2 separate regions of the Homo sapiens genome follow, and region 1 is linked to region 2. Evidence: promoter capture Hi-C in 16 types of primary human blood cells and fetal thymus (Javierre and others, 2016). All regions are on one chromosome and are shown on one strand. Each heading gives the region's core, a stretch centred on a gene start or on the middle of the fragment in contact. The rest is flanking DNA. Distances are from core to core; before and after follow the strand shown. Region 1 holds the start of EXD1 (exonuclease 3'-5' domain containing 1). Region 2 holds the start of KNL1 (kinetochore scaffold 1).

Region 1 (2,837 bases), core at 227-2,726, 640 kb after region 2:
CCGCCTAGACAATATGGTGAAACCCTGTCTCTACTAAAAATACAAAAATTAGCTGGGCGTGGTGGCACGCGCCTGTAATCCCAGCTACTCAGGAGGCTGAGGCATGATAATCCCTTGAACCCGCCTGGAGGTTGCAGTGAGCCGAAAATGCACAGTGATCAGGCCATTGCACTCCAGCCCGGACTCTGTCGCAAAAAAACAAAACAAGCCAGGTGCGGTGGCTCACGCCTGTAATCACAGCACTTTGGGAGGCTGAAGCGGGCAGATCACCTGAGATACGGAGTTCGAGACCAGCCTGACCAACATGGAGAAGCCCTGTCTCTACTAAAAATACAAAATTAGCTGGACACGGTGGCGCATGCCTGTAACCCCAGCTACTAGGGAGTCTGAGGCAGGAGAATCGCTTGAACCCGGGAGGCGGAAGTTTCGGTGAGCTGAGATGGCGCCTTTGCACTTCAGCCTGGGCAGAAGAGCAAAAACTCCGTCTCAAACAACAACAACAACAACAAACAAACAAAACTCTAGTTCTTCAAACTAGAACCTCAGCTTGCAGGGAACGTGTGGGGCCTCAGGCTAAGCTGTAAAGCCTTAGGTAACACTTAAAACTAGTAACTTAAGTTGACCTGGGAAAGCCTGCTACGACAAAAATATCCTGGTACTTGGGTACTAACAGCAGTCAGAATTCGGTTCTTCCTTATCTTATACGTGTTCTAACCAAACAGGTGTGAAGGGGTAAGGCAGGTGAAGCAGTAAGAACTGGTTCACCTGAGAGTAGGCACTAATTTAACGGGTGGCTTTTACCTTTTTTTTTTTTTTTTTTTGAGACGGAGTCTTGCTCTGTCACCCAGGCTGGAGAGCAATGCCGCGATCTCGGCTCACTGCAACCTCCGCCTCCCGGGTTCAAGCGATTCTCCTGCCTCAGCCTCCCGAGTAGCTGGGATTACAGGCACGCGGCACCACACCCGGATAATTTTGTATTTTTATTAGAGATGGGGTTTCTCCATATTGGTCAGGCTGGTCTCGAACTCACGACCTCAGGTGTTCTGCCCACCTCGGCCTCCCAAAGTGCTGGGATTACAGGCGTGAGCCACCGTGCCAGGCCTACCTTTTTAATCAAAACAAACAATACACCATGAGAATAAAATGCAAAATTTCTCATTTTTAAGACAAAATAAGGAACTTCAAATAAATGGCGGACCATAAGCTAGGAATTCACTGTCCTCCATCGTTAGGGCTTTTTCCTCCGAAGGAAGTTTGGGAAATCTGGATCCTAATTTCAGCCAAGTGGTGCGTTCCTCGAACTTCAGTCTAGAACTAAAAGAAGAGGGGCTGCAATGAAGGAAGAAGTCTCGGGACGCTCCACGCCACCCGGCGGCGGTTATCAAATCACAGGCTGAAAACCTGGAGAAAGGTCCGCGACGCCGGGGACACACGCCGCAGAGGCGACGCCCGCCCGGCCCAACGTCCAGTCTCGTCTGTTTCCCGAGGAGCCAATCAGCACGCGGCCCCGAGGCCGGCTCCCCAGCGCCCCCTGCGGCCGGGAGGAGGACGGCAGCCAGGAAAGATGAAGAGCGCGTGCAGTCCCCGAAGGGTACACCCTAGGGTTCCCCCCCACGCGAAGTTTCTCTCCGCAATCCGTGCCACCTATCGAGTAGGATTCCTAGTGTTCGATTCCTGTGAGAAAAGGTAGACTACGCTGCCTGTCGCAGGTTAGTTTGTTGTAAAACTGTTGGTCAATGACGTTGCCCTTTTAATTGCGTCGTTAGCGACCGAGTGGCATCGCCCCTTTAAGGCCGGTGGCAGCTGCGGTTCCGGGGGCGGGGTCCGTCTTCAGCAGGACTTGGGCTGGAGCTGGGCTGATTCATTCGGGGCTGGAACTCGAACGCTGACGTTGGCTCCTGAGCCGGGCGCTGCCTCGCGCCTGATTGGCGGGTCCTCGGGGCCGCCCTCCCCAGCGCACCACCCCTGGGTTCCCTCCCGGGTCCGCAGTGGAAACACTGCCCTCTCCCTTCTTGACCCCTAGCCCTTCCTTCCCTCCCTCCTTCCCTCCTGTCGCCGTCTCTTCTGGCGCCGCTGCTCCCGGAGGAGCTCCCGGCACGGCGATGGGTTCTCGGGCCTCCACGTTACTGCGGGACGAAGAGCTCGAGGAGATCAAGAAGGAGACCGGCTGTGAGTTCGGGTTGGGGGTGGGAACGCCGGGCGCCTCAGGCTGGCCTCACAACCAAGGGCGGCTGTCGCTAAGGTCTGGAGCTCGGGTGCCTGTGAGGTTGGGGGGTCCTGGGCAGCCTCCAGGTTTGGGGACCGAGAGCTGGAAGACCTGTTCTTCCAGCTGCAGCTTCCTGGAGCGGGGCTCTAGCTACTGTGGGGCTGTCCTTCCCTTCAAAATCGGGACTCTTGATCACTCGTAGAGCGTCGACGCCCCCCTTTTCTGCACCCTGCCCATCAAAGTCCCCGAACTCCTTTCCTTTCTGTTGCCTCGCACCACCCTTCCCTATGAAGAGGCATCCTGAACAGTAGGTAAAGCCCGAGAAGCAAATTCAGGAACTCGAGATGGATTCTGTAGAAAATCCGTTTCTGGGTAAGGACCTAAAACCTCTGACAACTATGGGAAATTACAAACAAGTTCTTGTCACAAATTGGGAAAACCACCCAGAAAGCAAGACCGTGTAGTAAGGCTTTGGGAGACATGACCCGATGCCTGGAGACCTTTAAACAATCAGGGGTCTGGGATTGTGAGACTTCTTTCAATCTGAACTTCTAGAGAAAAAACACGGATACTGTGACCACCAGTTTTTTACTTACACGACGATACTTGCTGTCCTAATCTCATATATGTA
Region 2 (2,700 bases), core at 135-2,634:
TATCAACATTCCCAACGGATTTGGATCTGTAACAGAAAGAAGCCACTGGAGCCAGCAGAGAATGGGGCCACTGCTTTCCATACTCAGTGCCCAAACCTTGCTGAAGCACCTGCCAGAGGCCGTGTTGTGGAGCATGGTGCAATGCAGACAGCCTTGTGGAGGAGACAATCTGTAAACCATGACTGCAAAAGATTGATAAATACTGATTATTAATCTACAGCACAGTGTAGGATTGATAAATACTAATTATTAATCTACAGCACAGATTAGAAGGGTGATTAAGCCAGCGTCTAGTAGATTTGGGTTACACTCTCCTTTCTTCAATTTAGAAGCTGTATAACCTCGGGCAAGCTAATCTTTCAGTCTCCTCATCTGTAAAATGGAGTAATAAAAATATTTGTCATGATCAAGGGTTATAGTGATGTAATTCATGTAAAACATGTGGTGCCTGTAGATAATAAATACCGGATAAAGTGTCTCATGGTAGCTTTTGAAGTGAAACCTGGTATCTCATAATCAGGACAGGTGTTAAAAACCCCAGAGTAACAGTCTACAATAATTGAAACTCCTCAGTTAGGAGCTGTGTTAAAGTTGGAACAGAGCAGCATTGGAACATATGGGATGGTAATAATTGTGGAATTCTATTCACTGTTGTTAACTCCATATAAAAAGAAATTAAATCCAGCATGATTTCTGATTCCTGGAAAGTCTCTTTCCCTCCCTTTTCTTTATCTGTGATGTCAGAACGTTCCAAATACTGTATTTCAACATTTCAGGCCTGAAACTGATGGTGCCAGATTAATTGAGTAATAAATAATAAGTATTCAAGTTTTTCCGCTCTGCAAATTTACTTTGGTTATTAAAAAATTTATTCTGCTCTGCAAATTTACTTTGGTTATTAAAAAATTTATTCTGCTCTGCAAATTTACTTTGGTTACAAGCAAAAGTAAGCCACCACATCGACGAGGATGGGATTCGAACCCACGCGTGCAGAGCACAATGGATTAGCAGTCCATCGCCTTAACCACTCGGCCACCTCGTCCCGGTAAGTTACTGTTTCCTGATTGCTATAGGGAGTAATATCAAGGGGCTGTGACGCAATGTTATGGAAGCCGCCATTTTGTACGGAAGCCAAAGTCCAATCACTTCCATAGCAAGCAATCGAAAGAAGATGGCCGCTCCCACGATTGTGGGGGAGGTCTCCACTGGGGAGGGGCAGAGGAAATTCGGTCGAAAAAGAGATAAAGCTGAAGGAAATAAAATTGGCACGGAGTCTGGGAAAGTAGTTTCCCTAAAGGAGTCTTAGAAATAGGGTTGGTCTGGAACCTAAGGGGCGGAGCCGACGCGTAGAGCCGCTTTGCGCGTGCGCATCACCTAGGCGGTTAGATTTGAATACTTCACTGAGGCGAGCCGGGCGTTGTGAGCGGACTGCTAGAGGCGGCTGTCTGTTTCCGCTCTAAGGAAACTCAGAGCGTGTGGACCCCAAACAAGTCTGCGCAAAATTTGTCGAGGAGGTTTGCCGCGGCAGGTAAAGAGAATGACTCTTTCGTTCTGGGCTTCAGGGAAGGCTTCGGGTTTTGTCTGGGCGCCCTGAAGTTCCTGCGGTGGGAGGTAGGGTACGCTCCCTCAGCCTGGCGGCCTCCGTTAGCGCCGGGCCGAGTAGACGCCCCTGCCCCGGGCCGGGCACACTGTGCCCTTTTTCCCCTCCTCGGCCTGTACGTTGTGCCGCCTCCCGCTTCCCTAACACTTCTCCGCCTGCACCTCGGCCCCTCCGGCCACCCGGCTCGGGTTGCTTGTCCGTCGCTCTCTTGGCGTCCTCTTCCGCCCCGCCCTGCCGTCCTCTGTCAGGGCTCGCGGACTCTTCTTGCACCCCTGCCGCTCTTCCCTAGGGACCTCTCGGCTGTTTGTATTTCTCACTTAAGCTTTTTTTGGCTCTAAATGAAGTGACAGCAATGAGTGATTTTAAAATTCTCAGCTCTTCGTGGTTTAAGGTGTCTGCTCGGAGTGCTGGCCGCACGTAACAGATTTTTCGTTTTCTGCAAGTATAATAACCTTAACAAATGAAGTCAATATTAGTACTGCGCAAATTAGTTTTTAAAAATCCTCTTCTGTTCATTATTCCTCAGGATTTAAGCCCTTATTCTTCACGTTTATTTAAATACTCAAGTTTGAGGGAGGAAAAAGTATTGCCGATTGGAATTTTACAGATAGGTTTAATAGGCATTAACAGATAAAGGATGTGGATGAAGACCAAAGCAGAAGCTTATTCCAGTCTAGATATTAAAATTGATGTTTTCACTTCCGTCGAATCCTGTAGATATTTATTGGGTTCCTTATCCTGTGATAGGGCCGGGGACAGATGATTCCCAAACCTAGAGGGGTTTACAAAGGGAAATAACTAATATACACAAATAACTAGAATACAAGACAGAATGTAAAAGATTATAGGACATTCTAAAGTGGTGTGGGAGCACGGAAAAGGGAGAGCTTATTTGATGCTTTTGGTGATGGATTTGTGGAGAAGACCGCATTTGAGGTGGACGTTGGTTGGAGAGATGATTTACAGATGGGAGTTAATATGTGGTAAAATTTTGGTAATTAAAGGTTAGGGTCAAAGCAGTATAATTCTTGACTTTGCGAATGGCTGGAAATCTTTACAAGATGATAAATACATGTAAATTGAATTAAAATGTTTGGAAT

What was found. Contacts are between HindIII fragments. The CHiCAGO score rates a contact against its expected background, and 5 or more counts as called.
Region 1: a contact is called between the fragment with the promoter of EXD1 here and the fragment with the promoter of KNL1 in region 2, in 1 of 17 cell types (activated CD4 T cells). The highest score is 5.7, in activated CD4 T cells.

Annotation. Positions count from the first base shown.
Region 1 is chr15:41,229,281-41,232,117 of GRCh38, forward strand. EXD1 (exonuclease 3'-5' domain containing 1) reads right to left here and starts at 1,477. Exons shown (of 12, transcript NM_001286441.2): 1 at 1,199-1,477. It overlaps CHP1 (calcineurin like EF-hand protein 1), which reads left to right and starts at 1,988. Exons shown (of 7, transcript NM_007236.5): 1 at 1,988-2,169. The coding sequence starts at 2,103. RefSeq lists a silencer at 1,502-1,561 and enhancers at 1,682-1,751, 1,772-1,831. The HindIII fragment of the contact is 6,181 bases long and covers 1-2,837 here.
Region 2 is chr15:40,592,865-40,595,564 of GRCh38, forward strand. It overlaps KNL1 (kinetochore scaffold 1), which reads left to right and starts at 1,385. Exons shown (of 26, transcript NM_144508.5): 1 at 1,385-1,528. It overlaps TRS-GCT4-2 (tRNA-Ser (anticodon GCT) 4-2), which reads right to left and starts at 1,042; the gene lies at 961-1,042. RefSeq lists a silencer at 935-984 and enhancers at 1,105-1,324, 1,545-1,864. The HindIII fragment of the contact is 4,787 bases long and covers 1-1,920 here.